Regions from separate parts of the Homo sapiens genome. Here region 1 is linked to region 2. Evidence: promoter capture Hi-C in 16 types of primary human blood cells and fetal thymus (Javierre and others, 2016). All regions are on one chromosome and are shown on one strand. Each heading gives the region's core, a stretch centred on a gene start or on the middle of the fragment in contact. The rest is flanking DNA. Distances are from core to core; before and after follow the strand shown. Region 1 holds the start of CLEC18C (C-type lectin domain family 18 member C). Region 2 holds the start of EXOSC6 (exosome component 6).

The links. Contacts are between HindIII fragments. The CHiCAGO score rates a contact against its expected background, and 5 or more counts as called.
Region 1: the fragment with the promoter of CLEC18C here is called in contact with the fragment with the promoter of EXOSC6 in region 2 in 1 of 17 cell types (endothelial precursors); the score reaches 7.3 in endothelial precursors.

What each region holds. Positions count from the first base shown.
Region 1 is chr16:70,171,385-70,176,544 of GRCh38, forward strand. It overlaps CLEC18C (C-type lectin domain family 18 member C), which reads left to right and starts at 2,403. Exons shown (of 13, transcript NM_173619.4): 1 at 2,403-2,567; 2 at 2,789-3,018; 3 at 3,563-3,654. The coding sequence starts at 2,895. LOC400541 (a long non-coding RNA gene) reads right to left here and starts at 2,064. Exons shown (of 3, transcript NR_126007.1): 1 at 1,744-2,064. The HindIII fragment of the contact is 29,094 bases long and covers 1-5,160 here.
Region 2 is chr16:70,249,089-70,254,227 of GRCh38, forward strand. EXOSC6 (exosome component 6) reads right to left here and starts at 2,852. Exons shown (of 1, transcript NM_058219.3): 1 at 1-2,852. The coding sequence starts at 2,812. The coding sequence ends at 1,994. It overlaps AARS1 (alanyl-tRNA synthetase 1), which reads right to left. Exons shown (of 21, transcript NM_001605.3): 18 at 4,831-4,950; 19 at 4,626-4,712; 20 at 4,180-4,293; 21 at 3,210-3,818. The coding sequence ends at 3,633. RefSeq lists silencers at 2,059-2,378, 2,509-2,598 and enhancers at 2,979-3,028, 3,069-3,258, 3,893-4,393. The HindIII fragment of the contact is 9,148 bases long and covers 1-5,070 here.

The DNA of each region.
Region 1 (5,160 bases), core at 1,153-3,652, 78 kb before region 2:
AAACGCTATAACCTTCAAATGTAGACTGGGAGAAGAGGTATCAGCTATGCATGAGCTGGAGAGGGGTGGGATAGATAGAGACACAGGTGATAAAGAAAATATAGCAAAATGTGAATCCTACAATCTGGGTGGTGGATGTAAACCCTGTAGTAGCCTCACCTGGGGAAAGCTGCCTTGCAACAATGAGGCTGCCCATTCTCCAAACCCACCCCAGCCACCGAGCAGGCTCCACTAAAAAGTCTGAACCCAGGAGGGAGTACCATGGAAACCAAGTTGCAATGCCCTGGTTAGGGGCCCAGCAGAGGGGTCATCCCAGCTCTACGCCATTGGATACTGAGTTTCAGGAGTGGGAGTGCCATCCTCAGGGTCACACAGCGTGTCGGTTCCAGCCTAGGTCTTCCAGTGTCTCATTAATCTTTTATCCACTCAGCTTCTCTTCTGGCCCATGAACCTTGCTCTCCTGGGACTCTTTTTTTTTTTTTTGAGGGGTCGGGGGTGGGACAGAGTCTCGCTCTGTTGCCCAGGATGGAGTGCAGTGGTGCCATCTTGCTTCACTGCAACCTCCGCCTCCCAGATTCAAGCAATTCTCCTGCCTCAGCCTACCGAGTAGCTGGGACTACAGGCACCCACCACCCTGCCCAGATAATTTTTGTATTTTTAGTAGAGACAGGATTTCACCATGTTGGCCAGGCTGGTCTCGAGCTCCTGACCTCAAGTGATCCGCCTGCCTTGGCCTCCCAAAGTTCTGGGATTACAGGCGTGAGCCATCACACCCGGCCTGGGACTCTTCTTGCAGTGAGCCAGGGCCATGGGACCCTTCAAAAGTTGCTCCACCCTAATCCCCAAAATATCTTTTTCTCCCGCCTGTCCCAAGTGCCTGGCATCATACTATATGGGTCAACTGGCCATGTTTGCCATGGAAGCCCAATTGTAGGAAGTGGGTCTTTTATCACCCGGCATAGCAGAGCTGTGGAAACTGCACTGGGAAAGATCAGGATGTGAATTAAAGCGTTGGGAATGGGAAGGCAGAGACCTTGGATTAGCTGGGATGCTCCATGCACTCGCTGAGTGACCTTGGACAAGCCCCTTAGACACACTAAGCCCGTTTCCTCATCTACACGACGGGCATCCCATCTGCTACTGCACCAGGTTCTTGTGGCAATAACTTGAACTCACACATGCAAACAGGCTTTGTGAGCTCCATAAACACAGGTGGCTCGGCCAGGTGTGGTGGCTCATGCCTGCAACCCCAGCACTTTGGGAGGCCAAGGTGGGAAGATCCCTTGAGCCCAGGAGTTGGAGACCAGCCTGGGCAAGACGATGAAATCCTGTCTCTACCAAAAAAAATAATAATAATTAGCCAGGCATGGTGGCACACACCTGGTCCCAGCTCCTTGGGAGGCTGAGGTGGGAGGATCACTTGGGCCCAAGAGGTCAAGGCTGCAGTGAGCTGAGATTATAACACTCCAACCTGAGTGGCAGAGTGAAACTGTCTAAAAAATAAAAATAAAAATACATCAAAAAACAGGTAGCTATTAAGCATTGCTAGGACCCACACGCAGTGACCCTGAGGGTGCTGGGTTTCTGTTTGAGGGAGAAGAAACTCCTGAGCCCCTAGGTATTGTGGGGGACATGCAGTTCCAGACCGCCTTCATGGCCTGTATGCCTGGCCTCATCCCCATCCCTGGCACCCATGACGATAGCCACATTCCACTGGTGTTTCCCCAGGAAAGCCAACCCTACCTGCATCTCAGCAGAGCTTCCACGGAGTTGGAACCCCGCTCCGAGAGGGTGTGGGCTCAGGGGCCAGGGGTCACACAAACTCCAGAAGGAGGACGTAGTTGGTTTGCAAGGCTGTCCTTTGCCCTGGTTGAATAACCTTTGGTCTTCCCCGAGAGGAACGTGGGCATTAGGCTGCAGCCCACAGGAAGCTATGTATTTTCTGAGAAACTTGGCCCATGGTGCAGATCTGCTCCAGCTCACTCTGGTGGGATCACGCCAGCCACGGCCGGGCCACGGCACATCATGGCAACGTGCTGCCCACCTGCTACGCCACCTGTTTTTCTAGAGGCGGACGTGATCCCAGCAGGACTGGAGTCAGCCCAGGGCATCACGTGCTCTGGTCCCCGCCTGCTTTGACTCCTCCTGCCTCACTCCCCCCCTGGCCTGTAGTCACGTTGGTGAGGGTGGTGGGCACCGGGGCTGGGCCCAGCCCCCGACCCTGCCCAGACAGACTTTCCTAAGGCACCCTTTTCCTCGTGCAGGTGCGGCCTCAGCCCACCCCCCTTTGAGCCCACAGATTGCACCCCTCTGGTGTGCGGTTACCTCTTGCCTATGTTTAATTCATGGCTGGGGGGTTGGGACGAGCTTCCCAAGAAAGGAAAGAACTCCCCTGGGGTCTTGCCCAGTTTCTGCTCACCAGAAGGACCATAGCCGAGGTCCTCCTCCCAGGGCCCGGGGCTGGGGAGCGGAAGCCATCAGTGGGCTCGGAGGACACTGTCCCAGCCAGGACACGGCCATCGGTCACTAATCTGCAGCACTGGAATGTCCGCAGGCCAATCAGCGGGGTCTCTGGGGGCTCCCCAAGGGTGCTAATAATCCCACAATGATTAGCAGGGGCCGCGGGTCAGTGCACGCCACTCTGCCTGCTGTCGGGGGCGGGCTGGCCAGGCCGAGGCCGGAGCAGGCAGGCATCCCCCGGAGTTGTCTCTTTTCATGCCAGCGCCAACAGGAGGCTGTCTGGACACACTGATTACTCACTCACCAGCCTCCCTCTTTTGTCCACCAGCCCAGCCTGACTCCTGGAGATTGTGAATAGCTCCATCCAGCCTGAGAAACAAGCCGGGTGGCTGAGCCAGGCTGTGCACGGAGTGCCTGACGGGCCCAACAGACCCATGCTGCATCCAGAGACCTCCCCTGGCCGGGGGCATCTCCTGGCTGTGCTCCTGGCCCTCCTTGGCACCGCCTGGGCAGAGGTGTGGCCACCCCAGCTGCAGGAGCAGGCTCCGATGGCCGGAGGTAAGGGACACCTGGTGAGGAGGTAGGTGGAGGCACCATTATGAGCTCTGAGGAGTGGGTGCTAGGAGACTTCTGGAAGCCCGGTCCCAGGCCTGAGCCCCAGGCCGTGCGGGTGGTTTAATGAGGAAGCCCTGGGACAGCCCGGGGGCGGTGAGGGGTGGATGCTGGACTGGGGAGGAAGGAGGAGGAAGGAGGACCAGGGCTGGGGTCAAGGAGGAACGCCGAGGAGCGCTGTGGCTGGGGCCTGGAGAAATCCGTGGCCCGGAGGAGCCCCAGACAGGGGCCTGCGGGAGCCAGGGCTGGCCCCTACACCCAGCCCGCACCGCTGTTCCCTCCCGCCACCCCAACCCCAGCACTCAGCCCACGCCTGCTGTACCTGGTCTCTCTCTCAGCCTCGCTCCATTGCTATGCCCCACGTCCCCTGCACCCACCACACTCCTCTCCCATCTTGTTTTCCAAGGGCAGGGACACATGCTTATTCTGCCGTGTGTTGGGTTCAGGTCCCCCCATCCTCGGGCTGCCTGACCTTCTCTCTCCACCCCAGCCCTGAACAGGAAGGAGAGTTTCTTGCTCCTCTCCCTGCACAACCGCCTGCGCAGCTGGGTCCAGCCCCCTGCGGCTGACATGCGGAGGCTGGTGAGTACCCGACCCAGCTGGGCTCTGCCAGGGGGGTGGCCGGAGGCGCGGACCCCAGAGGGCGGCTCAGGAGGCCACGCCTGTCCAGGTGCCCTTCCACTTGACCAGGGTGGGCAGGCACAGCCAGCCACCTTGCCCCTGAGGGACGGAGGCCCTGGTTGCTGGGGGTCTCTGCAGTTTCTTAACCCCCCACCCTCAGTTCAGGAGGTCGGGCCCCTTGGCTCCCACTCGCCTGAAGGGCAGGACCTTGGGCCTTCCCTGGCATCTTGTTGCCACAGAGACCAGGAGCCACAGGAGGAGCCGGATCCCCTCCTCCAGGGAAGGGGAGCTTCACGAGGAGCCCTGCAGGATGGGCGGCCGGGCCAGGGAGGGAGAAGGTCGTGCTGGGCTGGGGAGGGGCTTCTGTGCGGCAAGGACCCAGCGCCTCCTCCTGAGCTTATCTGAGCCACGAGGACGGGCCTTGCCCATGTTCTCTGCTCACTCACTCGTCCACATTTTCCACATTTTCAGCAGGGGCCGGGGGTCGGGGGTATAGAGTTCCCCACCAGCCCGGCTGGGGCTGCGGGGTTGGGACTGTCATCTGGAGGCTCAGAAACGCTGCCCTCCATTGTCTGGGACCCCAGCAGCCCCAGCCCATGTTAGCAGGCCAGGGAGCCAGGGCAGGGTGGTGGGGGCGGGAGGGTTCCCCATGGCTGCTTCCCATGAACTCCTCCAAGGCAGGTGGCCACAGTGGCGACCTTGAGCACTCTAGGGTCAGTTTCCCAGGAGGTGGGGGTGGGGTGGCTAAATGCGGGGGGTCGCTTCTCCCCCATTCCCAGCCCTGAGTGGCTCTGCCTCTCCTCAGGCTCAGACCCTGGGCAACCAGGGGTGCTCCCAGCTGTGACCTCCGTGGTTGGGTACTCCTGCCTGGGACCCCAGGAGGGGCTGCGGTGGTCGTTGGCTGGCAGCTGGCACCCTTTCCAGGGCCCTTTTGTCAAAGTCTTAGAAAACTTCATTTCCATAAAGGTGCAAATGGAGCTCCATGGCTCAGCCTCCCTCGTGGCCCGGCCCCGAGCACCCTCCGGGCCTCTAGGGCTCCAGGGCACCCCTTCTTTGGACACAGTGGAGACTGAAGGTCTTGTGGGGGTGGAGGGCTGCTGAGGGACCCCGGGGAGCCCCCAGCTCCTGGCCCCAGCCTTCATCAGAGGTAAAACCCCGATGGACATTAGTGCAGGATGAAGTTGGCTTGGGGTGCAGCCCCGAGGGGCCCCCCTCCCTGCATCCACTCAGTGCTTGTGAGTCCTATCCTGCAGGCACCTCCCTGCTCCGTTTACAGATGAGCTCAGGGAGTCTCGGGAGATCAGGGGACTGCACCAAGTCACCCAGGGGTGGTGATTGCCAGGCCCACTTGTTTAAGAAGAGGGAGGGGGCTGGGCACGGTGGCTCACACCTGTAATCCCAGCACTCTGGGAGGCTGACACAAGCAGATCACCTAAGGTCAGCAGTTTGAGACCAGCAATGGCCAAC
Region 2 (5,139 bases), core at 1,602-4,101:
TACTCAAAACTAAATCAATGATCTTTTAGGCCAGGTGTGGTGGCTCATGATAGTAATCACAGTACTTTGGGAGGCCAAGGCAGGAGGATCACTTGAGGTCAGGAGTTCAAGACCAGCATGGCCAACACAATGAAAATCCATCTCTACTAAAAATACAAAAATTAGCCAGGCTAATGGCACACTCCTGTAATACCAGCTACTTAGGAGGCTGAGGCAGGAGAATCGCTTGAACCTGGGAGGCAGAGGTTGCAGTGAGCCGAGATCATGCCACTGCACTCCAGGCTGGACAACAGAGCAAGACTCCGCATCAAAAAAAAAAAAAAGATATTTTAATATATTCAGATACACAAATATGAAATAAAACTAAGTAGAGCTGGTATTCATTTACACATAATTATCTTATACCGTTTGGAATAAGAATTTGGGGCACGTTAGCAAACCAAAAGGCTCAGAAAGACGTCGTGATATTTAGTTCTTGTCTCCCTCTACAAATGTGAAGCACTCTTCTATCCGGCATTCCTAGTGGAGTTCCTATTTTCAAATTTGCAAATCATTCTGGTGCTAAGCAATCTCAAAAAAAACATTTACTAAAAACCAGAGGAAAAAAATCTTATAACTTTGGGAGGCTGAGGCAGATGGATCACTGAGATCAGGAGTTTGAGACCAGCTTGGCCAACATGATGAAACCCCATCTTCTCTAAAAATACAAAAAGTTAGCTGGGTGTGGTGGCAGGTGCCTGTAGTCCCAGCTATTCCAGAGGCTGAGGCAGGAGAATCACTTGAACCTCTGAGGCGGAGGTTGCAGTGAGCTGAGATCGCGCCATTGCACTCCAGCCTGGGCAACAGAGTGAGACTCTGTCTCAAAAAATAAATATAAAAAAATAAAAAGCTGCTATTCTCCATTAATACCTGCAGGCCCGACAAAGGCAGCCTAGGAATTCTAGATGAATGGAATGAATACAACTTGCTGGAAGTTCTTAGGAAACAAAATGACTATTCACAGAACCAAATAAAAGCCTTCCACTAGAAACTAAAAATAATAATAATAATAATAATGGTTTTATATATATGCATACACAAGCAAAGCCAGAAGAGAATAAATAGCAAATGAATGAAAACTAGAAGCAAAAACAAACAGGAAACCATCTCTACATTTTTTTTACTCAATCGACCCTGAATGCTACAGCATTATCCAGGGCCGCAGAAAACACACATAATACTTTATTCCTGATAAACAATTCGATGTCCTTAAGTCCGCCAATATCACCGTACATTCTGTGCAATCAAGAAATTTACTCAGCTGGGCACAGTGGCTCACACCTGTAATTCCAGCACTTTGGGAGGCCAAGGCGGGTGGATCACCTGAGGTCAGGCATTCGAGAACAGCCTGGCCCACATGGCGAAACCCCATCTCTACTAAAAATACAAAAATTAGCCCGGTATGGAGGCATGTGCCTGTAATCCCAGCTACTTGGGAGGCTGAGGCAGGAGAATGGATTGAACCCAGGAGGCAGAGGTTGCAGTGAGCCAAGATTGCACCATTGCACTCCAGCCTGGGCAACAGAACAAGACTCCATCAAAAAAAAAAAAAAAAAAAAAAGAAAGAAAGAAGAAAAGAAAATTAGCCAGGTGTGGTTGCATGCACCTGTAGTCCCAGCACTTTGGGAGGCCAAGGCAGGAGGATCAATCAAGGCTAGGAGTTTGAGACTGCAGAAAGAAACCCTGTCTCTAAAAAAAAGGTCCAGGTAATTTCAGGGTCCAGCTCCACCACAAGCGCAGCTCCAGGGGCTGTTGAGTTTTGCCTTTATCATTCCAAGTAGTCCCTGCTCCAGACCAAGTCCCACCATCTGGCAGTCAGGTCAGTCCAACCACAGTCATATCAGGGCCCTTCCAGGAATTCTCGACGCAAACTGGAGGCCGATGGCGCGGGTCTTTTCGTGGACGGCGGCAGCACGGTCCTCGGCTTGCGTCCGTAGTTGCTCAGGCTTCTGGTTCAGGGCTGGGCGGCGGCGCCCCTGCGGCGGGCGGCCCGCACCAGGCTCTGCTGCAGCACGGGGTAGAGGCGCTGGCAGCCCTCGAGGCCCAGGCGTACGGCCTCCGCCCAGCTCTCTGTCAGGCCGCCCTCGCCGCTGCCCAGCAGCCCGGCCACCTGATTCAGCACAGGCATGAGCGCCACGGTGAGGCCGGCGGCGGCGCGCTCTTCCTCGAGCCGCGTGGGGTCCAGGAGCCAGGTGGGCGCGGGCCCCGGCGCGAGGCTGAGGCCGCAGCCCACCACCAGGTCGTACATCTCCACGCCCGCGTCGGCCAGGGCGAGCGCGGCGGCGGTGAGCGCGGCGGCCAGGGCCGAGCCACCGTCCTCCAGCAGCAGCGCCGACACCTCGAGCTGCGCGCGCGGGTAGCGGCCCAGGCGCACAGCCGGCTCCAGCGCCTCCTGCAGCGCCAGCGCCAGCTCACGCTCCTCGCAGCCGCCCGGGGGAGCGCGGCGCCGGCGGCCCGCGAAGGGTGCGCGGCGGAAGTCGCAGAGCAGGCGACCGCGCAGCGCGGCCGGGGCCTCGCCGCCTGCTCCGGCCGGGCCGCCGCCGCGCTCGCCGCCCTCGGCCTGTCGCGGGCCCGACACGGCACACAGCACCTTGGTGCCTCCCGCCTCCAGGTAGGCCGAGCCCTTGGCCTGGCTCAGCAGCCCGGCGCGCGCGTACACGGGCCGTAGCCGCGTTGGGTCGCGGGTGCCGGGCGCCTCCTCCTCGTCGGCCGCGTACAGCTGCGGCGGCTGCGATTCTTCAGGGCCGCGGATGCGGCGGTGATCCCCAGGCATGGCGGTTCTTGGCGTGCGAACCCCTTCCGCCCAACGCCCTGCCGCATCCACTGGTTCTTCCGTTGTTTAAAGACGCGCGGCTGCGCATGGGCTGTCGAGAGAGCGGCGGGAGGCACTACAGCGCCCCTGGAGGCCCGGAGGGAGAACGGCCCGGTCCCAGTTGTGCAGGGTAGCCGGATCCATCCATCTTGCTGGAAGGGAGGGGGGAGAGCAGCTCCAAGAAAGGCTTCTCTGCTTCCAACTACCTCCACCCCTCATCTACTGAATTATGAACGCCTTGCTCCAAGTCACCCCACCTATTTGGCCTCCACCTCCACAGACGTTTGAGGCAGCCCTAGGGGCTGTTCCCAAAATTTTGGGTTCTGGGGCTGGACTAGGTGAACACCACAGCAGCCAGCAGGAGCCACAGCATTTATTCTACAGACGCCAAAGGCTGTCAAAAGAGCCAGCCCCTATTGGGAAGAGGGATAGAGATCATGCGGCATTAAGTATTGCACGTGGTCCTTTTATTCTCTGCAGCAAAAACGATTCCTACTTGCTGACGCGGAAAGCTCAGGTCTGGAGAGCCGTTATCTATAGATGCGAGCGTGACGATCAACAGCAATGCGGGGTTAGTGGTTCTAGACCGATGGCACTGACGTGGAGGGCTCAGGGCAGAAATTTAAGGGGCACTGAGACATAGGACTGCTCCCAAGTGTGTTCCAGTTACTGCTGGGTTAGGAGGGGCTCTTTAAAGGTCCCAAGATTCAAATGTTCTTGTAGCAGATGAAGAGCTCTTGGCTGGACGGATGGATCCAGTGGGAGCCTCCTCCTTCCCCACTCAGTTCTTTACATCCCCGAGGCGCAGCTGGGCGAAGGAAGTGGCCAGCTGCAGCGCCTCCTGCAGGCAGCCAACGTTCTTGCCTGTGGCCTGTGCAGACACATCCTTGCCACCACCTTTACCGTCCATCAAGCCTGACACCTGCTGCACCCACTCGCTGGCTTTTAAGCCCCGATTGGCTGCATTCTAGAAGACAGGAAGGGAAGGGGGAGTCAGCACAGAAGATGGGATTGAGGGAGGAATGCAGGGAAAGAAAGGATGGAGGAGCCATCACCCACTCCTTGCCCTGGGTGATACTGCTGGAGGCCGAGACAGACTTTACGGCTGGTACAGGGGGCGGCCATGGCCACTGCCAGGACAGGACAGAGTGGCAAAGCCAGGTATCAACCAGATGTCTTCACCAATAAGAAGGCCTGGGTAAGGGGTACTGGCAAAGGTAACCAACCGGTGGGCAGAAAGGCTGTTTCGAATGCAGGCTGTACACACACAGGCCTCAGCCAACAACCTTAAGACCTAACACTTCCCACTGGTGCGAGGTGGTGCTGACCTGGGGAACTTGACACAGGCACGTGATCTTGCCAGCCTCATTGTCCACCGTGAAGAGCATGGCAGAAGTCTGAGGGGAGTGCATCTTGAAGAGCTTCAAGGCTTCATTCAGGGCCTGTGGGGAGGACCTGGCTCAGGCCACGGTGCTGGAGCAGGGACCCTCACTAGTGTGAGCATTTGCAGCCCTCAGAAGGCCTGCCACCCACCCCTACCCCTTCCCAGAGCAGGGGCTGTGCCCAGGGCCTGTGGGGAGGACCCCAGCGCCGGGCCCTGCCCCTACCCTGGCCCAGGTATGCCTCCCACATGCAGGGAGCTGCTGCTCCTCCCAATCTCAATCCCAGACCGTGGGCCCTTAGGCAACCACTTCGCTCAGAGCCACAGAGGCCACATGTCAGCCACCAGAGAGCTGATGAGCCCTAGGGGAGGGGACCCTGGCCCCTGGGTTGCCTTGGCTGAGGCGCCGCTCTCCATCTCCAGGATGACAAGAGGCTGGTTGGGGTTGCTGTCGATGAACTGCTTCGTCTTCTCTAACACCTGCAAGAAAAAAGTCCAGAACAGCAGCTCAGACCAAAAGCCCAGGCCCCGAACCCCTGGCTGTTCTGCCAGCCTTTGCCTAGGAAACACTCTGGCCACTGGTGCTGCCAGGACTCACTCGTTTCTGGACATCGGCTTTGCTGGCTCGGTCCAAGTCATCCATGACCTTCTTTAGGGATTTGAGAGTCTCCCGCAATTCATCCTTCTGCCACTGGGGGATGACTGCAGTGGCCAGGGCCTGGAACCAATAGACGACCATCTCAATCTGGGCCACAACTTGCTGGGATGTCAGGGTCCAGCCCACCCCACCCGAACCCAAGTCCTCCCTGACTAGTGTCCTGGAAAGGAAAGCAAGGAAAGCTTTGAGACCAGTCCCTTTAGGAGCAGCTGTGGCAGGTGAAACAAGCAGGGCTAGAGAGAAAGGAGC